Linked DNA regions of Homo sapiens: all the other regions are linked to region 1. The links are contacts of gene promoters, found by promoter capture Hi-C in blood cells and fetal thymus (Javierre and others, 2016). All regions are on one chromosome and are shown on one strand. Each heading gives the region's core, a stretch centred on a gene start or on the middle of the fragment in contact. The rest is flanking DNA. Distances are from core to core; before and after follow the strand shown. Region 1 holds the start of PRDX3 (peroxiredoxin 3). Region 2 has its middle 81 kb from the start of RGS10. Region 3 has its middle 63 kb from the start of RGS10.

Region 1 (3,495 bases), core at 791-3,290:
CCAACATGGAAATGTGACAAGGGCAGTTTGCCTCAGTGATTCTCAACCCTGGCTGCACGTTAGAATCACCCGGCACATCCTGGTCTCACCCCACAGACTAACTTGTCTGGGGTGGGACGGGGGCAGTGCTGTGTTCCTGAAAGCTCCCAGGTGACTCTAACGTTTGGCCAGGGTTCAGAGCCCCTGTCCAGAGACGATGGTTCATTTTTCCTTTACCTGGCTCCAGCCAAGACATGACATAACACTTACTGGTGCTGAATAATTTTGCTTGACTGGAACCAGAACACAATAAATTTGTCAAGCTCGTTCTTCCACATGCAGCAGGCCTGAGGGCTGCAGTGGCAGAAATGCCCCAAGGAATGGCACTCACATGTCGGGCAACCTGGAAAGAGAAACTTTTTATTAGAAAGTTTTCCTGGACTGGTGACTGAAGGCTGAAAGGGCATCGTGCCAACGGTGGTTTCAGCTGTCCCTGTTCCTGTGAACCAAATAGCAAACCCCAAACTCTAAGAGCATGGATTGGATCTGCATGTTCTTAACACTCCCTTCTGCTTCCTTCTCCTAGGAGACTGGAAGGTGGAGAGGAACTATAAGAACACAAAGACCGGCTGGGCGCGGTTGCTCACACCTGTAATCCCAGCACTTTGGGAGGCCAAGACGGGTTGATCACCAGGTCAGGAGTTCGAGACCAGCCTGGCCAAGATGGTGAAACTCCATCTCTACTAAAAACACAAAACTTAGCCAGGCGGCGGTGGCGGGCACCTGTAATTCCAGCTGCTTGGGAGGCTGAGGCAGGAGAATTGCTTGAACCCGGGAGGCAGAGGTTGCAGAGCCGAGATCGCGCCATTGCACTCTAACCTGGGCGACAACTCCGTCTCAAAAAAAAAAAAAAAAAAAATCAGAAACTCCATGCGCTTAAAGCAACACAGGGTTCAGAAGCCAGGGGACTTGTGCAGGCTTTTCCCAGCACTATCTGCTGAGTATGTTCTACCATTTCAAGGTTTTCCTTAGAAAAACAAGGCCCCTCCAGCACCAGCGACAAGTAAACAAGAAGAGCCAAATTCAGCCTCTGGGAGTCTGTTAAAGGCTCAAGGGACATGTTTACTCAACTTTTTTTTTTTTTTTTTGAAACAGAGTCTCGCTCTTTTACCCAGGCTAGAGTGCAGTGGCGCGATCTCGGCTCGCTGCAGTCTCGACCTCCTGGGCTCAAGTGATCCTCCCACCTTAGCCTCCCCAGGAGCACTGACCACCATGCCCGGCTATTTTTTTTTTTAGAGACAAGGTCTCACTATTATTGTCCAGGCTGGTCTCAAACTCCTGGGCTCAAGTGATCTGCCCGCCTCGGCCTCCCAAAGTGCTAGGATTACAGGCGTGAGCCACCGCACTCTGCCGGTTTGCTCAACTTTAATGTTCAAAATGACTCAGGAGAACGAAAGGGGCTGTGTTGAACCCCACCAGAGAAAGCCGTGTACCAAAAGAGCACGACGCATTGCCCACAGTTAAGCAGGAAACAGCAGCAGAAACACGCGGGAGTGGGATTGGGAGGGAAAGCCTTTGTGAGTTTTTTAGCACTTTGCGCGTTTTTATCCAGTATTTAAGGGGCTGTTCACAGCAACGCCTTGATGTAGGCATCATTCTTTCCATCTTAAGTACACAGTCTGAGAAAGGCGAAGGCGCTTGCCCAAGATCACAGGGTCGGTGGCAGAATCAGGGCCAGGACCTTAAGTGGAGATGGGCCTGGGGACCGGGGACGCCGAAAGAGGAGGGACTCGGGGAAGAGACCGCGAGGATGGAGTGGGGAAGGGCGGTTCTGCGCAGGCGCATGGAACCTTCCCGGAGGGAGGCCTCTGGGTCCGTTACCCGCGGAAACCCTCCAAGAAGGGCGAATGGCCCTCATGCCCAGAAGCGCGGGGTCCTGTCTGAGAAGCACGTTCCCGGAGCCACCAGTGTCTCCACGCCTGTCCCCAGCCGACAGCCACTCACCGACGCTCGGAGCAACCGTCCTACAGCAGCCGCCATCTTCAGTGCACTCGGGCGCCACGGGGCGGGCAGAGACGCAGGGGCGGGGCCTACGGGGTGGTGAGCGGGCCCTCTGCTGGTGGGGGGGCGGGGCCGGAGGAGCCACCGCCTCCCCGCCTCCTGGAGACCCTGAGGGAGAAATTCCCTTTAAGGCTGAATGCTTGGGCAAGTGACACGTGGTTTTCCTACTGTCGCCCCAACCTTAAAAGAACGAATCCAGGCGGGGCATTAGGTATTTGTTTCCATATTTCCCACTGTTTTGTTAACCTTGTGTGGATTACTGTGTCTAGTATTTCTGTGACAGGATCCCTTTCTTATTTCAGCCTCAGGTAGAGACTTCCGGCTTCTGTATGAAATGGAATTAATTACAAATGCAGTTTTAGTCCGTTAATAAGCTAAGTGGGCTAGACACATCAAGGCTTTGTTGGCCTGAAATCCGCTGGAATTGTGTGTGGTCTAACATTTGGCCTCTCTTCCCAAAATTGGGAAAACTGGGACAAATTTAAAATTTGGTTTTTGTCTATTAATGAAGCCAAGTGTTCAGTGGTGAGCATAGTACTTGAAGCAACCACATCAAACATAGATAAAAATCACACCGTGGCCTTACAGTAAGTGTGACAAATTGCAGTCTTGGAGCTGGTATTTTCTTTTCTCTTTTCTTTTCTTTTCTTTTTTTTTTTTTTTGAGACTGGGTCTTGCTCTGTCGCCCAGGCTGGAGTGCAGTGGCATGATCTTGGCTCACTGCAACCTCTGCCTCCCGGGTTCAAGCGATTCTCCTGCCTGAGCTTCATGAGTAATTGGGATTCCTGAGCAGCTGGGATTACAGCCGCCTGCCACCATGCCCAGTTAAGTTTTTGTATTTTAAGTAGAGATGGGGTTTCACCATGTTGGCCAGGCTGGTCTCAAACTCCTGACCTCAAGTGATCCGCCCACCTCGGCCTCCCAAAGTGCTGGGATGATAGGCATGAGCCACTGCACCCGGTCTGAGTTGGTATTTTCCAATCACTAGTCATTCAATTAGCAACTTCGTTTCTCAAGTCTTCTTATCACCAAATATCACTTACTATTTTCTTTAAATTGGCTTTCTTTTTTTTTTTTCCTTTTCTTTTTTGAGACAGAGTCTCACTCTGTCGTCCAGGCTAGAGTGCAGTGGCACAATCTCGGCTCACTGCAACCTCTACCTCCTTGGTTCGAGCGATTCTTCTGGCTCAGCCTCTCGAGTAGCTGGGATTACAGGCGTGCACCACTAAACCCGGCTAATTTTTTTAGTATTTTTAGTAGAGATGGGGTTTCACCATATTGGCTAGGCTGGTCTTGAACTCCTGACATCAGGTGATCCTCCCACCTTGGCCTCCCAAAGTGCTGGGATTACAGGCGTGAGCCACCACACCCAGCCCAGTATATTTTCTAAAATCATCTCAGGTACCACTAGGCGCCACCCTGGGTACCAGTCCCCAGATGTGGAAAGGACTGCCT
Region 2 (3,254 bases), core at 177-2,676, 280 kb after region 1:
AGCAGGGGCCTGGCCTTGACCTCACACCCATTCACACCCAGCCCTGCCTGGAGCCACACTCCAGCCAGGCCTGGAGCCTGGGGAAGAATCTGCTTACTGGGGGACCCTGTGGAATTGGACAGAGAGAAAGAGGGGCCGGCTGGCAATGAGGGTGGGATGAGGAAGGGGCTCTCCCAGGATGGAAGAATGGGGGTACTCATGGCCGAGGATTTGCCGACCAGGCGGGTAGCCCTCAAGGGCAGAAGATGCAGGGGTGGGGCAGGAAATGCTCTGATCTCAGAACAGGGATGGGGAGGACCTCCCCGCAGGGCCCAGCTCTGTCTCTGGGGCTTTCACCACTCCAGAAACTCCACTGTCCGAGCCAGCCTCCAGGCAGACAGAAGCTGCCGTCTCTCCTGGGACAGGTAGGGTATCAGTGGGAGAAACTCCAGCCCCACAGCTCCGGCCCCCCTCACCATTTACACTGCCCTGCCCAGCAGCTTTGGCCCCTTCCCAGGCAGATGGGCTGGGCTGGGCAGGAGGAGTACCCACCTCTTACCTCCTCCACACCTTTCAGGCCTGTGCCCGTCCTGTCCACACCAGACAACCGTGGATTTGGTGAGGGGACCAAAAGAGCCTCCATCTAACTCATTTTCAGGAAAGGCTCAAAGCCAGCATCCCTGGGCCCCAGAGAGCTCCAGGCCACAACCCCTGTGGGAGGCAGTCCTTAAAGCTGTTAGGATCCACCTGCCATATCCAGAGACCGTGAAGAGGAGGGAGAGCTGGGGCCCTGGGAACAGACCCTTGAGCCACAGCATGGCAGGGCTCCTGGTACCACTTTGCCCAGCAGTTTGCCAAGCCAAACATTGCCCAGGCCTGGGCCAGTTGTCATGGGGCCTTGGCTTGGCTATCTTGGGGGAGAGAGCAGGAAAAGCCCATTCAGCAGGCCATGGGGTGAGATCTAGAGTTTGCACTCTAGGGGCATCAACTACTGGCAGGTAAACCACAAGGCGCAGAAGGCTTGGGTCAGCACCTCTCATGCTTCAGGAGTTCTGACTCATTTGGAATCTTGATAAACTAGAATCTGATTCAGTGGGTGTGGGGTAGGGCACAGCCCGTGCTTCTGAGTGCTCCTGGGCGAAGCCACTGGTCCTCAGACAACACTTTGAGCAGAGAGGCCTTAGAAAGCCCCAAACCTGGCTGGGCACCATTTCTCACACCTAATCCCAGCACTTTGGGAGACTTAGGTGGGTGGATCACCTGAGGTCAGGAGTTTGGGACAAGCCTGGCCAACATAGTGGAATCCCAACTCTACTAAAACTATAAAAATTAGCTGGGTGTGGTGACATGCACCTGTAATCCCAGCTACTTGGGAAGCTGAGGCAGGAGAATCCCTTGAACCCTGGAGGTGGAGATTGCAGTGAGCTGAGATTGTGCCACTGCATTCCAGCCTGGGTGACAGAGTGAGACTCTGTCCCAAAAAAAAAAAAAGAAAGAAAGAAAGCCCCAAACCGGAATGGCAGGCTGGGTCTATAGTCAAACCAGGTCCTGTATTCTATGGTACAGAAGTTTTATTAATACTCACCAACATTTGCCCTGCCCTTGAGGGGAACTGATACCAGTAGTTTTCAAAGTCTGACACCCTCACCACTACAGGCTGCAGCAGCAGCCCTGTGAACTTCTGAGAGATCCAGGTTCCTGCTCCCCGTGCCAAGCCTATTGAGTTAGGAGTCTGGGTGGGACCTATGAACAGGACCCCCAGGTGACTGGGGTGCACACTCCAGTTTGAGGCCCACTGGTTTACAAAGCGCTTTCATCTCATTGAGGACGCTTAGGGCAAAGCAGCCACTGATCTTCCTGCCGATGGCTTTTCAGAGTCACAGAGGGCTGAAGAGAGTGAGGCTCTTACCTGCAAATGGAAGCAGGTGGGTACAATTGGCTACCACTGTTCTTAAACAAAAGGAAAGAGGATACGACATAGAATCCTACTGTCATATTTTTAATGAAAAGATAAACCAAAAAAAGGAAAAAAGTTACCTACAGGGAGAGGGAAGCCACCAGGGGAGGAGAGTGAGAGACAGATATAAAAGCCAGTCTGCTCAGAAATGTGCCTTGTCTTGTAGATTTGACTTTGCAAGCACACGTCAAATAAAACACAAATCCAGACTCAGTGGGGAGAGAACTATTTGAAAGATTTTTGCAAGGGAGGAAAGGGGCTACTGCAACAGGGGCTGGGATGGAGAGCACTGCAAAACGCAGAAGGCTTGACCATGCCATCTGCAAGGGTCTTGAGGGTTAGGCGAAAAGATGATCTCTTTTGTAGAAAGAACAAGGCTAGAAAGAGCCAGGTGTGGAAAGTGGGATGAAAGGGTGATGTGATTAGATAAATAGATCAGAAAATGTCACCCTGAGGCAGCCTCTGCTCTGGAGGGGCTGCCTGCAGGCTCAGGCTGAGTTGGTCAAAGTTCAGAGTCCAGGAAGAAGGAGTGAAACTTACCCAAGTCTGGCTAGCAAGCATTTTGTTTCCATGGATCAGTGGGAACAGGCCGTTCAGCTAATCATTTATGAGGCAAAGAATGGGAATTTGGAGGGTCTGTGTCTGGCCTTTCATAGATAAATAAGGGGGACATCCCTCGGCCTTATGGAAGTCTGATGTGGTTGTCTGTGTCCCCACCCAAATCTCGAATTGTAATTCCCATAATTCCCACATGTTGTGGGAGGGACCCAGTGGGAGGTAATTGAATCATGGGGGCGGGTCTTCCCCATGCTGTTCTAGTGATAGTGAATAAGTCTCATGAGATCTGTTGGTTTTATAAAGGGGAGTTCTGCTGCACACACTCTCTCTTGCCTGCCACCATGTAAGATGTGCCTTTGCTCCTCCTTGCCTTCCACCATGGTTGTGAGGCCTCCCCAGCTATGTGGAACTGTGAGTCTATTGAACCTCTTTCCTTTACAAATTACCCAGTCTCAGGTATGTCTTTATTAGCAATGTGAGAACAGACTAATACAAAGTCATATGGGGAAAGGTGGTTTTTTGCAGCATGTTGTTTTCCTGGAAAACAAAAATGTGAGGAGAATCTCTCGTTTTGGCTTTTTGTTGTTGTTTTGTTTTGTTTTATGAGACAGGGTCTTACTCTGTCACCCAGGCTGGAGTGCAGTGGTGCAATCATAGCTCACTGCAGCCTCTGACTCCTGGGCTCAAGCAATCTTTCCACTTCAGCCTCCAGAGTAGCTGGGATTACAGGTATGTGCAACCACACCCGGCTAACTTTTTT
Region 3 (3,384 bases), core at 63-2,562, 300 kb after region 1:
CACAGGACCGGGCATCAGAGCCCCCTGCTCACTGCAGGTCTCTCTGTGTGTGTGGCAGGGGCGTGGCGGGGGGAGAGGAACAGGTGTCACATGACCTCTGTCCCTAAGCATCTGAACTGAAGAAGTAAAGAGGTCAGCCAGCCTCCTCCCACTCCAGACCTCTGGGATACTTAAAGTAAGTGTTGCAGGGTTTGTAGCATCTTGGAACCTTTCTTCCTACATCACAGAAAAAAAAAAAAAAAAGTCCAGTGAACCGGTTCCACCTCTTAAGAAACTGTGGTTTCTACAGCCTGAACTTGAGCAAAACTGGAACATCAGAAAATTATTTCCTCCTGCCCCATCTCTGATGTAATAGCAGATCCAGTCCTCAGCTCTGTTTCTATAGAGAAAGCTGGGTGAACGGGATGGGTCTTTATTGAGTTCCCTTTGACGTTCTTCCAAAAAATAGATGTGATTTTCCCCTCTCCCTCCCTCTGTCTCCTTCCATCATCCTTGCCTCCTTTGGACCCATAGAAGGGGGTTCTTGTGGGAAGTGATGATCTCTGAGCCAGGCCCTCTTTCAGATGAGCTATGAAGTTAGTTTGTTTACTTATTTTTTTCATCTAAACCCCAAATACCACAGAACCAGCACCTGCAATTTTTCCTAACACATCCTTTGAACTTGCTGCAAGTTAAACTGTAGAGGTTTCATTTCTCAGTTGTAATTCAGGGTGTCTTCCCCATGCCATTTGCTTCCAAGGAGCAACATCTTCCTCCCTTTCTACCCCAACTCCCATCAACAACTGAAAAAAACGAGAAATCAGAACTTCAGCCACAGCAGCCTTTCCTGGCTCTGTGTGAACACCGTGGAGAGGATACAGCCCTTGACTCCCTGGCCCTCCTCCCTCTCACGTCTAAGCTGGGAACACCATAAACAGTCACAGTGCTGAGCCAGGCAGAGAGGCAGACGGGTACAGCCAGACGGGACAGATGTAATTAGCAGCATCATTGCTTTGGTGTGCAGAATAGATAGCAGAATGCCGCCACCCACATGATGCTTTGGCAAATGTACTGTCGCTCATTTTCACAAACAATTCAATAGGTCTTTTAAAAGTGCCGACAACAAGCAAAGAAAGTCACGGAAAGAAACCAGAGTGACAACTCAGCCCGAGTGCCAAAGTTACTTGAGAGCTGCTCTGGGAACAGTGAAGCCAAACCAACTCCGAGTTCAATCTGATCCAAGTTCAGATGGACAGAGCCTGGCATCCATGGGGCAAGCAGTGGTGCCCGATTCATCGTCAGATAAAGTGAGCTCAGATGCCACCGTGTTCCTGATGTAGCTGTCACATGATGCCTCTGAGTCGTACTTTTTCCATCTGCTTAATGGGCATGTTGATCCTGGTGTGTGTATTTCTAGACTTGCTGTGAGGCTGGCGGGAGGCCACTTGGAAGGGAAAGTCTTTGTGATCTACACAGTGGGGGTCGTCATTAAGGAAGAGCCTCAGGAATTGCAGCCACAAGGACAGTGCCATTCCTAAGGTAAATCACGGGAAGAAGAAGCCTCTTAACCCCACCTCCTACAGCAGCGAGCATTAACTCCTCCCCAGTGGCAATTCCCCAGGCCTCTCTCCTCATGAAGCCCAAGGATCAATGAAGTAACTCTTACATTCTCCAGCACCCACATGGTCCAGTCTCGAGCCATTGTGCAGCTGGAGAAGCACAGTCCAGTGTGTTTTTCTTCTGTTTCCCCAGCACTCTGAAGGAGAGCCCAACACCAAGTTCTAATAATTTATTAATTTTTTTATTTTTAATGCATTTTTATTTTATTTTATTTTATTTTATTTTATTTTATTTTATTTTATTTTATTTTAGAAGGAGTCACTCTGTTGCCCAGGCTGGAGTGCAGTGGTGCAATCTCAGCTCACTGCAACCTCTGCCTCCTGGGTTCAAGCAATTCTCTTGCCTCAGCCTCCTGAGTAGCTGGGATTACAGGCATGTGCCACCACACCCAGCTAATTTTTTGTATTTTTAGTAGAGACAGGGTTTCACCATGTTGGCCAGGCTGGTTTCGAACTCCTGACCTCAAGTGATCCACCCACCTCGGCCTCCCAAAGTGTTGGGATTATAGGTGTAAGCCACTGCGCTTGGCCTTTATTTTTATTTTTAAAAGACAGGGTCTCACTTTGTCATCCAGGCTGGAGTGCAGTGGTGTAATCATGGCTCACTGCAGCCTCAAACTCCCAGGCTCAGACAATCCTCCCACTACTTAGCCTCCCAAGTAACTGGGACTAGAGGCATGTGCCTTCATGCCCAGCTAATTTTTTATTTTTTGTAGAGATGGGGGTCTCACACTGTTGCCCAGGCTGGTCTCAAACTCTTGGGCTCAAGCAATCCTCTCACCTCAGACTCCCAAAGTGCTGGGATTACAGGTGTGAGACATTGTACCTGGTTTGGGAGCCTATTAAAATCCTCATTTCTCTCCTATCCATGTCTCTCACCCTGGCAGCCACCCTGGCACCCCCTTCACTTCTCCCTTCCCTCTTCTGCCCCTTCCTGTATCATGTAGCTTTGCCTGGCATTTTTTCCATGGGCGGAGATGATGTAAGCCAGCTGGCAATGACGGGGTTTTCAAAGGCAGCTGGTAACAGAGGAAGGCTCGCAGACTAATACTTATTACCCCACTGCCATTGTTTCATTTAATGTTGTCCTCAAAGCTCTCCTGGGTTCAAACTTAAAACCCATGCAAGTGTCAAAACAAATCGTGCCTTTTTGAGTATTTTTTTCTCTCCTGGATCTTCCTTTCAAGCTTGTTTCCTACCTTCCCTCCGGGTGAAAATGAAGATTTGAGTTCCTATTTTCTTTCTTTTTTTTTTTTTTTTTGAGACGGAGTTTTGCTCTCATTGCCCAGGGCTGGAGTGCAGTGGCGTGACATTGGCTCACTGCAACCTCCACCTCCCAGGTTCAAGCGATTCTCCTGCCTCAGCCTCCCGAGTAGCTGAGATTACAGGTGCCTACCACTACGCTTGGCTAATTTTTGTATTTTTAGTAGAGATGGGGTTTCACTATGTTGGCCAGTATGGCCTCGAACTCCTGACCTCAGGTGATCCACCTGCCTCGGCCTCCCAAACTGCCGAGATTACAGGTGTGAGCCACCGCACCCACCCGATTTCCTATCTTTCTTGAGAAGCATCTTCCAAAACGTAAATGCACAGACTCTCAGAGCTGAAGGAAGCCTCAGGGTCCAGCTAGTCCAATCCCCGGTGATGTCTGAATTCCCCTTACAACATCCTGGCAGGTGACCACCCAGCCTCTGCTCGAATGCCTCTTGGGAGCAGGAACCCCCCTTCTACCCCCTGAGGCTGAGCAGACCATGTTTGATTTTTTTCCAAGAAAATCTTCCCCAAA

The links. Contacts are between HindIII fragments. The CHiCAGO score rates a contact against its expected background, and 5 or more counts as called.
Region 2: a contact is called between a fragment that was not itself captured here and the fragment with the promoter of PRDX3 in region 1, in 6 of 17 cell types (total B cells, endothelial precursors, total CD4 T cells and 3 more). The highest score is 8.1, in total B cells.
Region 3: a contact is called between a fragment that was not itself captured here and the fragment with the promoter of PRDX3 in region 1, in 6 of 17 cell types (naive CD8 T cells, M1 macrophages, endothelial precursors and 3 more). The highest score is 7.7, in naive CD8 T cells.

Annotation. Positions count from the first base shown.
Region 1 is chr10:119,176,772-119,180,266 of GRCh38, forward strand. It overlaps PRDX3 (peroxiredoxin 3), which reads right to left and starts at 2,041. Exons shown (of 7, transcript NM_006793.5): 1 at 1,984-2,041; 2 at 250-382. The coding sequence starts at 2,019. RefSeq lists enhancers at 920-1,564, 1,564-2,043 and a silencer at 2,074-2,183. The HindIII fragment of the contact is 12,445 bases long and covers 1-3,495 here.
Region 2 is chr10:119,460,550-119,463,803 of GRCh38, forward strand. No RefSeq gene overlaps it. Among named protein-coding and RNA genes, the nearest start is that of RGS10, 81 kb to the right of the region's middle. RefSeq lists an enhancer at 1,663-1,912. The HindIII fragment of the contact is 4,863 bases long and covers 1-3,254 here.
Region 3 is chr10:119,478,311-119,481,694 of GRCh38, forward strand. No RefSeq gene overlaps it. Among named protein-coding and RNA genes, the nearest start is that of RGS10, 63 kb to the right of the region's middle. RefSeq lists an enhancer at 1,183-1,762. The HindIII fragment of the contact is 2,942 bases long and covers 1-2,783 here.